2 separate regions of the Homo sapiens genome follow, and region 1 is linked to region 2. Evidence: promoter capture Hi-C in 16 types of primary human blood cells and fetal thymus (Javierre and others, 2016). All regions are on one chromosome and are shown on one strand. Each heading gives the region's core, a stretch centred on a gene start or on the middle of the fragment in contact. The rest is flanking DNA. Distances are from core to core; before and after follow the strand shown. Region 1 overlaps NAV3 (neuron navigator 3). Region 2 holds the start of E2F7 (E2F transcription factor 7).

Region 1 (5,316 bases), core at 153-2,652, 870 kb after region 2:
GGTAAACTATATTTGGATGAATATATATGATTTAAGAGTTTAACAATAATAATGGTTTACAATATTTCTCATGGTTAATGGAAATGTATTTCATATTAAAGCAGTGAGCTACTAATAACAATATTTAACATAGTGAAAGTCCATATTCCAAAGTAGAAATTCATTAAATCCTCACAATAATTCCATTGGTTGAGGTATTAGTCTGTTTTCACACTGCTATAAAGACATCCCTGAGACTGGGTAACTTGTAAGGAAAAGAGGTTTAATAGACTCACAGTTCTGCAGGCTCCAAAGGTAGCATGGCTGGGGAGGCCTCAGGAAACTTACAGTCATGGTGGAAGGTGAAGGAGAAGCAAGATCATCTTACGTGGTGGGAGCCAGAGGAAGAGAGAGAGCCAAGGGGGATGTGCTACGCACTTTCAGAAAAACCAGATCTCATGAGAACTCTATCAGAACAGCAAGGGAAGAAGTCTGCCCCCATGATTCAGTCACCTCCCACCAGGCCCCTCCTCCAATACTGGGAATTACAATTCAACATGAGATTTGGGTGGGGACACAGAGCTAAACCGTATCAGTAGGTTATAATATTATTGCCATTTTACAGATGAGAATACTGGGGAATTTAGAGAAAAGAAATGTTCAATCAAAGTCTGCACAAATATTAAGTGGCAGAGCAGACATTCCAACAATGTGAATTGTTCCTCAAAGAATACATGCTATTGCATAATAGGCCCCAAAATTCATACTGATAAATGTAAAATATACCATGATACCTTTGATTTTTATCACTTTTAATTATGGTTAATGAATGATTATGCATGCAATTGTACTAGAATTTCTAAGTAGCCCTCTTGTAAACGCAATCTCAGTAATTCTTCTGAATTCCTTGAGATAAAATTATTAGATGGGATGATATTTATATTCATCACGTTGAAGTTCATCAAAACAGTCGAAGAAGACTGGCTTCAGATTTCCAGAGATAAATCGTATTGGAAGCTTTAGCCAGAACATTCATGATTAAAATCTTCAATGACCCTTTTACAAAAATTACCAAACACTGAATTATGATTAGTTTGATATTGTTCCCAATTATACCAATTTCTTCACTAAAAAAACTATAATTAATTCATAGCATAAGCCTGCAAAATACATTACTGCACATTTTGTAACTCATTCAGCTGAAACTAAAATGTTAAATACTGTGATTATTATTTTTGTGATAATGAACTGAGGGCAATTTTGGAGTTCAAATCCAATTTCAGGACCTGATTTCACCATCCTGTTGTATTTATTTAAAGATCACATTCTAATGACAGTTGACAAGGTTGTTTGTATTCTCTCTCATCACGGCATTACAGTACATTTATTGATGAGTTTTAAATACATTTTTATACCATGTGTCCTTTGCTCGAAGTCTCCTTAAAGACACAACTCATTTTTCCACCTTTGTATTCAACTTACACATATACAATTTTGAAAGAGAGAAGTATGTTTGTATATAATATTTTAAAATATATTTACATGTTACTTTGTAATTTTTGAAATATTTCACCATCTAGATTATAATATCCTTTTGGAAGGCACTGGTTTTCCCTCTCTTGTCATTTCCTTGGAGGGTCTCAAGTATCTTTTAAGTATGGAAGACACAGCTGTTTATTAGAAGGAACAAATAAAGTGTACTACAATTATTTTTAAATTTGCATTAAATTTCTTTATATAGCCATTGCTCTCACTGATTGCAGCTGAAGTTAGAAATACGGCCTGAGCAAAGTTTCAGATATTAGAGATGCTGGACATATCAAAGCCCTTAAGCTTGGGATTCCTCTGGAAGAAATTCTGGATCAAACAAAAAATGATTTGTGAGCTAAAACACAGGTATTACCAACAAGGTATCTTGAAGCCAACTAGCTGGCCTCCCATTTGTTTTCTCACCTAAGTCCCAGGATGAATTTGGATAAAGGCTAAGGAACTGTTGACATGCATTTGGAGAATGAAAGTATTCTTATTTTCACTTTCCATTCATATCATTTTGTTTTTTATTTAAACAAATGTTTTTGTATAATTAATGTTATCATAAAACAAAACCAACGAAATACAGTTTGATGGAAGTGGTGCCACAATAGAGACATTACAGGTCTGAATGAGAATATGACAGCCTTAATCTGTTATTTAGATTTCCCTGAGTTCAGATGGCAGACAGATTCACAACACCTGTGAAGTGGAAGGCAGGCAGAATTAGTGATAGGAGTAGTGTCAGAAGCAATTACTACAATTTCTTTAGTCTTCTGATGCCAGCCTTCTCAATTTTCTTAACATTTGTGAAATTATAACTTTAACAAGTATTTGTTGGAAAGCTATCACAGCAAAATAAAACTAGATGCCATGTGATGATAATAATAGCAAGCATGTTTTTTCATGACTAGCTTTGTGACAGATGCTTTACAAGTGCTATCTTATTTAGTCCTGGCACAATCCTATAATGTAAGTATTATTTTTCTCCTTGTTTTACAACAAGACTTTTTTTTACAAGAGGAATCTGAAGGTTAAGTAACTTGTCCAGGGTTCCACTGGTAGTAAGTGGTCTCAAGTCAGATCTGTCTGACTCCAGAACTCATTCTCCTCACCCTTGTGAATCCTTTTTCAACCCATGGCCCCAGTCTTTGCCTATGGACAGATCGGCACAACTCAAGTCTGACTTAACCTGAAGTTTCTACTAGAAGGCCAAAACAATTCTATCATTTAAATGAAGTGTTAAGAAGGGGAGTGTGCTCAATGTTTTAAATTCTAAACAGTATAAAATCCTTCCAAAAAATGTATGATCATACAAATATAATCAAATCTTAACTGAGAAAAATTATTACCAAATAAAAGCATCCACCTAAAAATCATGTATTTGTGTGCTAATTCAGGAGACAGTTATGCAAGTAATTTTTCTTACCCTTCAATATCTTCAACATAGAGATCATGGATATTAATAAAAGGAGATGCAATTTTGCTCTCACATATATTTTTCTTATGCAATGGGATGCTTCCAGTTGTTTACATCTTTCAAGAAACTTAATCACCACCAGATATGTACTAGTCTTATGATGCCAGTAGGACTACTTTGTATTTTCTAATAGAAAGGAACACTTTTTCTTCTGTGTTGTAATCTTGTGATATTTAGACCCAAGATTCATTCAAAACACTTAGCAGCCCCATTTCTAGGTTTTTGACATATAACAATACTAGCATATGAGTTCAGGAAGGTACATATGTCAGGCTGTCTCTTGCAACTTTAGATATAATAGAAACACATTTAAACAAGTCAAATATCTATCAACTGGGGGATTGATATATATAATGCAATATTAAAAATAGATGAACATACATGAAATGGCTCTTAGAAAAGCTGTTAAAATATTGTTACTTATAAATTTGAAACTGCAAAATAATATGTAAAATTTGAGCCAAATTTGGTTTAAAATGTGATCTCGTGTGTGTGTGTGTGTGTGTGTGTGTGTGTGTTCTGTGGCATGGTGTGAAGTGCGGTGTAGATACATCAATTCTGGAACTCTTCATACCAAATTATTCAAAAATGGACAGGGTTGAAAGTTGTGGGGAGACTTTCATTTTTTAGTTTCTATACTTCTGGTTTATTATTATTACTTTTTTAAATGTGAATTTGCTTTGTTAGAAATGTTTAAAAAGTTTTTAACATGCTTGGCATTTAGTGTTCATAACTATAAAATGCAACTTACCTTTTCAGCCTAATTTTCCCTAATTTTAGACATTCTGCCTCAATTACAGTTTTTACTGCTGTGTCCTAGATTTCTTTGCCTGTCGGCTTTTCTATATGTTATACCCACTGCAAGGAAGGTCCTTCTCCTCACTTCTCAGGCCTAGGTTCTATGTTATTTCCAGTTCTAATTCCAGTGCTTCTAACAATAATTTTAACAAGCGTATTTCTTACTTTCTTTCTTCTATTCTCATTTCAAATATTTTGTTTTTCTGTTACACCACATCATAGAGTGCCTTGTAATAAATCCACTAATATATGCATATGTACCACCCATAAAGCTGAAATCTTCATGCTTATTTTTCCCTTACAATTAGTAAGTATTCTATTCAATTGAAAAAATTAACAATGTTTTATTTTTGTGAAATTTTTGTAGAGTTTCAGCTTTTCTGTATATCATGATCTGCTGTTGAAGAGACACCTCTATTTTATGTCAAATTGTCAATTTTGTGCCTTATAATCCACTTCTGAATTCTACATTGTAATTTCTGTGTAATAACTCCATTTGCTGCCTCTATTCTCTCATATAAACACATTTCAAGAGGCTTAAATGGAAGACGACAATCCAAATCAAATTTCTTAGACAGGAAGGTATTTGTAATTATCTCATAAAATGATGCCAAAATCTTGTCACATACAGTATCTCACATGACAAATTCAATAGTGTTCTCAGAGAAACACAATTTTTTATAGTAATGTTTCTATGTAAATCAGTCCAGGTGGGTTTCTTTTACATGAACAAGCAAGATTGTTTTCAAAATGATAGAAACAATAAAGAGAGAGAAAACCCAAACTGATTTGCAATGGGAGTTTCCTCAGTAGTCATCCCAGAGGGAAGTTTTGCTTTGTCACAAGTGACTAGCCCTTAATTTTGAGAGTGAATCATCCCCTTTGAAATGAGAGATAAGTTGGGGAAAGAGCTGTTTAAAAATTACTTTACAACTATTTCCTTTAGAGCTATGACTTCTTAAACTGGAATGTGATCCAGAATAGCTTCCCTTTGAATCCAACATTTGTCTTCAGCATTTTATTGTCTCTGTTTTCCCTCACCCCATCTCACTTTTTCCTTCTCTCTGTTCAACAGATTTACACTGACTGGGCCAACCACTACCTAGCAAAATCAGGCCACAAGCGGCTGATCAAGGACTTGCAACAAGACATTGCAGATGGAGTACTCCTAGCAGAAATCATCCAGATTATTGGTAAGCCCTTCCTTCTGAAAGAAAGCATGAAAGTCTCTGCTCCCATCTCTTTGGTAAAGCACAACTTAAGTTAAGCGCCTTACTGAACTGGTCCATGTGTCTCTGAGATTCATGTAGCTCTCCCCTGATTTAATTAAAATGTTTATATGAGGATGTTTGAAAAAGGCAGTTTGGCCATACTTTTAAATAACTAGAACTGTATCTTTATATACATAAACTTGCTAACCTTTATTGAATCATTTGAATCGAACTGTCAGAAATGAATGCTTCATTAAACCATATGTCTCCCATGTGTGTATTTCGTTAGCTGGAGCAACTCATACACTCTGAGATGCC
Region 2 (5,405 bases), core at 1,341-3,840:
GAAAATTCCAGAAATAAACAATTCATGAGTTTTAGATTGTGTGCAGTTCTGTGTAATGAAATCTCACGTCATCCTGCTCCGTCCTGCTTCGGATGTGACTCACCCCTTTGTCCAGCGTATTTGCACGGTAGATACTACCTGCTCGAGCAGCCACTGTGTTTTCAGGCTGGCTGTCACGGTATTGCAGTGCTCATGTTCGAGTAACTCTTATTTGACTTCATAATGGCTCCAAAGCACAAGAGTAGTGATGCTGGCAATTTGGATATGCCAAAGGGAAGCCATAAAGTGCTTCTTTTAAGTGAAAAGGTGAACGTTCTTGACTTAAGGAAAGAAAATCGTACGCCAAGGTTGCTAAGATCTACTGTAAGAATTAGTCTCCTATCTGTGAAATTGTAAAGAATGAAAGAGAAATTCATGCTAGTTTTGCTGTCATACCCCAAACTGCAAAAGTTATAGCCATGGTACATAAGTACTTAGTTAAGATGGAAAAGGCACTAAATTTGGGGGTGGAAAACATAAACAGAATAAACAGAAATGTGTTCCAACTAATGGCAATCTGGTTCACTATTATCCACAGTTTCAGGTACTCACTGCAGGTCTTGGAACACATTCCCTGTGGATAAGGGGAACTACTGTATTTCTTTACCTAATAAAAATAAATCAAAATGCCGGACAAAAAAAAAATCCCTAGATGGGGGAGCATACAATTTCGCATCTATCCTAAATTAGCAATTATCAAGTATTCTTCAAAGGCTCATATGAGCCTGGGTTGCTTTGCAACCAAGGAGTTTCACTGTTGATGCTAAGCCTAAAAATAAGACCAGGAGCTCGGAGAAGTTCAATGCCCAAGTTGCTACTCACAGATTTATATTCAAAGTTTCTAAAACTTGGTTTGTTATTTCTATTTGCCTGTGCCTAAAAATGCTCAGATAGTTTAGACATTGTTATGGCCAGTTTACTTTGTAATGTTCTTGAAAACAACATCTTGGTCTTACAAATCACAAGGGGTGCAAAATGTAAGGGAATGGCTCAGTGCAAAACTAGCAACAGTATGGTAAAATATTCAGAATATACTGATGAGTTCAGCCACTTTATCTCCCTATATAGTAGGCACAGGTCTACTCTTGGGTGAATGGAACAGTCTCTGGGAGCTAGTTCATTGGTATGAAGACATTTCACAGCACTTTAATAATCCAGCATTTATGCCTGCAAAGGTCTATTTTCCTGGGAACTGAGGCTTAGCATTCCTACAGAGCACTAGCTACACCACCCTTGACAACTGTATTATAAACTTTGATTGCTGTAGCCAGCATATTTTTGACTTATATAAATTGGTTACAACATTACATGTAACCTTGCCTATTTTTCCCACTATATCTGAGAGTAGAATTCCAACAATAATGGTTTGGATGGCTCTATTTTTAAAAAAGAATGTTTCTATAATGTTTATCAATATTAATTATTATGCTTAAATACAAATACAAATGGCATGTTGGAACACTTAATTGAATTCAACATCACCATCCTTAACATATTAGAAACTAAGGTGTTTATGTTTGCTTACCTTTTGTGCATTTTCCCCATCTTCAACTGCAAAATCTAGTCTGGGCTGCCTGGGGCTGATCAGGTCTTTTAGTGTTAAACAATTTACCTCCATCTGTAATGCACAATTACACTAGAAAATGATTTTGCAATTAGGTATTTTTTCCTCAAACAAAAATATCTACATATGTGTTACTTGTTTGTCAATATGAAATTCCCCCTTCTCTAAGCACATCCTGGGCATTTCCAGGAGTTGTAGCCACCCTCAACTTTCTAAAACTCACGCGAACAAACTCAAACACCTAAAGTGTGCTTAGTAATACTGAAAATCTGGGAAGAAAAAAATCTACAAAAATAGTAACTCCTTATGAAAAGCTAGATGGCAAAATAAAGTTACCAAGTCGGAAGGGTGTTGGGCAAATCTGTCAGAAAAGTACAGGGTCTCCCAGGTCAGTTAATTTTGGCGCAAAGAACTGAGAGGAATTCGGCTTTGAGGGGTTTTGAATCGGGGGAAGGAAACCCGATCGCTAGACCAAACCCACTCAGCGCTGAGCGCAGCCCCTTCCCAGGCCTCCAAGCAGATCCCCCAAATAAACTTCTCCAATGAAAGCTCCAAGTTGTGGGGAAGGGCAAATCCCCTCTACTGCCGGGCCGGAGTGAGAGCTGCACCCGGCACACCCTCTGCGCACCGGGTTCCCCGGCAGAAACACCTCGAGCCCTCGCCAGCCGGGGGACGTGAGGAGTGGCAGGCTGGCAGCCGGGGCGGGAGTGGGCCCTGTATCCCAATTCCCGCCTCCCCACTGGCGCTGGGGCCGCACGCTTACCCCTGCTTTCCTAAGGAGGCTTCCTGCCTCTGCAGGGACCTCCACGGACCCAAGCCGATGAGGGAAGGTGGTGCGGCGATCAGCAGCCGGGCGGCGGCATCGGGAAGGGAGAGCGAGGCGCGCAGATCCCCGCGCCGAGTGCCCTGGGCTGGCGGGGACCCCGCGGCGTCCGGGCAGCGCCAGCGCTCAGACCGGCCGAGCGCAACTCCAGCCTGGATCGTAGTCCCCGCTAAAACACCTCCTCTGGCGCCTTGAGACCGAATTTGAGAATCCACCAATCAGCGGCGGCCGGCGGGGCGGCCCCGGCCAATCGTGCGGCGGCACGGCCCGGGCTCACCGCCCCTCGGAGTCTTGGCGCTCCGAGCCGCGCGTTTTGCCCTCACCCGCCCAATTGTTGCCGCCTCGGCCCCCTCCCCCTTCCGGGTACCTGGAAACCTCGGGCCCGGGAGCCAATTCCTGCTGGGGACGCGGGCCCCGGCGGCCGCGGGAAGCCAAGGTGGGGGCGGCGCGGGGCGGCGCGGGGCGGCGGGAGAAGGAAGAGGAGGAGGAGGGCTCTTTTGTTATGCATAGAAGACCCGCGCACGTCCCCGCGGCTTGCCGCGCCCGGGGACCCCGGGCACAGCCAGAGGACAGGAAAGCAGATGGGGTTTGGAAGAACGATCTACACCCTCTGGATGCTGCTGCCGCCATCCCCGCCCGCCCTCAGCAACCTGTGCGGAAGCGGAGTTGTCCAGACTTGCCGGGGCAAACTTCTTAACATCGCACGCTGGTGTGACACATGAACCATGGTTACCGCTCTGCTGCGAGCAGATGGCACGCCAGTTAGCCCTGGAGACAAGACTGGAAGCCAAACCAGAAGTTTTTCTAACTTTTTTTTGTTTGTTTGTTTTGTGTGTGTGGCAAATCCGGAAATGTTTTTTGGTGTTCCCTTTTCGGCAAATTGCAAATAATTAGGAGGGAAAAAGCTTTATATAAAAAAGTAGTTCTTTGCAATAGGGACTAGCATTCTGGGAGACAGTCTAGAAAATTTCCTCAACACCACTGATCTGTATTAAATGTTTCACTTCTTTCATCCTACAGTTTCTTGTTTAAAATATGAATGTTGGTAGAGATGGACTTTTTACAAAACAGACTTTATTGTTTAGAAGTTTTCAATTTACAGAAAAATTGAGATAGTACCAAGAATTCCCATATATTCAGCACCCAATTTCACCCACTATTAACATTTTGTGTTAGTATAGAATATTTTTTGAAATTAATGATCTAATATTGGTACATTCTTCTGAGCTCAAGTCATTACTTTATTCAGATTTACTTAATTTTTTCCTAATGGCCCTTTTTTCTGTTCAGGATACCACATTACCTTTAGTTCCTATGTCTCTAGGCTCCTCTTGGCTATGACAGTTTCTCATACTTTCCTCATTTTTGATACCTGGACATTTTTGAGTAGTATTGGTCAAGTATTTTGTAAGATATCCCTCAACTGAAATGTGAGACAGCCTTCTTAAAGCATCAGACATTCTTAAATGTACAGACATGTCCCTACCCCCCATCTACTTTACAGCAAAGGTATCATTTTCCTTTCTATACCAAGACTCCATTCTTCACCACTTACCCTCCAAATATTTTTATTTTATTTTATTTTTGGAGACGGAGTCTTGCACTGTCACCCAGGCTAGAGTGTAGTGGCCCAATCTCGGCTCACTGAAACCTCCACCTCCTGGGTTCAAGCGATTCTCTGCCCCAGCCTCCCGAGTAGCTGGGACTACAGCCGTGCGCCACCACGCCCAGCTAATTTTTGTATTTTTAGTAGAGATGGGGTTTTGCTGTGTTGGCCAGGTTGGTCTCGAACTCCTAACCTCAGGTGATCTGCCTGCCTGCCTTGGCCTCCCAAAGTGCTGGGATTACAGGTGTGAGACACCGTGCCCGGCCTCAAATACATATATTTTAAATGAACTCTCAGCAGAATTCAGAATGCTCAATCAAGTCCTTCACTTCGTACTCTAGATTGCTGGTAAATACGGCCTAAAAAAAAAAAAATCACTGCTAGGTCATACATTGAAAAGAGAAAAGTATGCAAAACATTAAACAAAAGAAAATAGTAATAAAAATCTGACATTTTTTATAGGAATAACATTTTGAACTGAAATCTCTTTTGTAGGTAGAAACCTAATGAGAAGTTTAAACAATAAAAAATTGCAACTTATTAAATTTTGCACATATGTGGAAGCAGAAGTTTAGATAAGGAAATACTTTTCCCAACAGTATTCATTTTCTATGGCTGTTGTAACAAATTACAACTGGCTTATAAGGACAGAGATTTAGTCTCTCACAGTTCTGGAAAGTTAAGGTATTCCCAGGGCCACACTCCCTCTGGGGCTCTTGTCCTTTTCCTCTTCCAGTTTCTGGTGGCTGTTAACAGTCCTTGACACGTGGCAGCCTCACTCCAATTTCTACCTCCATAGTTACGTTGCTTTCTCTTTTGTCTGTTAAGTCTCTCCTGTGTGTCTCCTATGAGGACACCTGTCAATGAATTTAGGTCCCACCTGGATAGTCCAGGATGATCTCATCTTGAGATCTTCAATTTAATTGCATCTGGGAAGATCCTCTTTCCAGAGTAACATTCCTTCATGGGTTCTGGGGATTAGGACATGGATACACCTTTTTGGGGCCCACCATTCAGCCTTCTAGACCAACATTCAAATTATTAAAGTCCATTCATTTCTCTGATATTTCAAAATACTAATGATCGTTTCTTTGAGGTTAGACAGTTTCACGGTACAGGGCTTTTCCTAACATTTTTAGAGTAAAAGTACTTTTTCTATTTTGATACAAATGTAATTTCTATTCAAGTTACAAAAAAAACTCAGTTGGATACATCACTTCAGGCACTTATAATTTCATTGATTATAAGAGTTATCTTAGATTTGGAGGAAAACTGAAAAATAAATGTTTGATGGACAAATTCAGAGACATTATTCCAACACACTTATTTATATTGATGTTTTTAAGTCCCAGAATGCATACATAACCTGTTAA

Evidence for each region. The method cuts DNA at HindIII sites, captures the fragments that hold promoters and counts their contacts. A CHiCAGO score of 5 or more calls a contact.
Region 1: a contact is called between a fragment that was not itself captured here and the fragment with the promoter of E2F7 in region 2, in 1 of 17 cell types (endothelial precursors). The highest score is 5.8, in endothelial precursors.

Annotation. Positions count from the first base shown.
Region 1 is chr12:77,935,457-77,940,772 of GRCh38, forward strand. NAV3 (neuron navigator 3) reads left to right here. Exons shown (of 40, transcript NM_001024383.2): 2 at 4,863-4,980. Among named protein-coding and RNA genes, the nearest start is that of NAV3, 110 kb to the left of the region's middle. RefSeq lists an enhancer at 4,062-5,261. The HindIII fragment of the contact is 816 bases long and covers 995-1,810 here.
Region 2 is chr12:77,062,979-77,068,383 of GRCh38, forward strand. It overlaps E2F7 (E2F transcription factor 7), which reads right to left and starts at 2,591. Exons shown (of 13, transcript NM_203394.3): 1 at 2,367-2,591; 2 at 1,565-1,657. The coding sequence starts at 1,657. RefSeq lists enhancers at 1-139, 2,539-3,245, 2,981-3,210 and silencers at 2,431-2,480, 2,501-2,930. The HindIII fragment of the contact is 4,360 bases long and covers 1-3,329 here.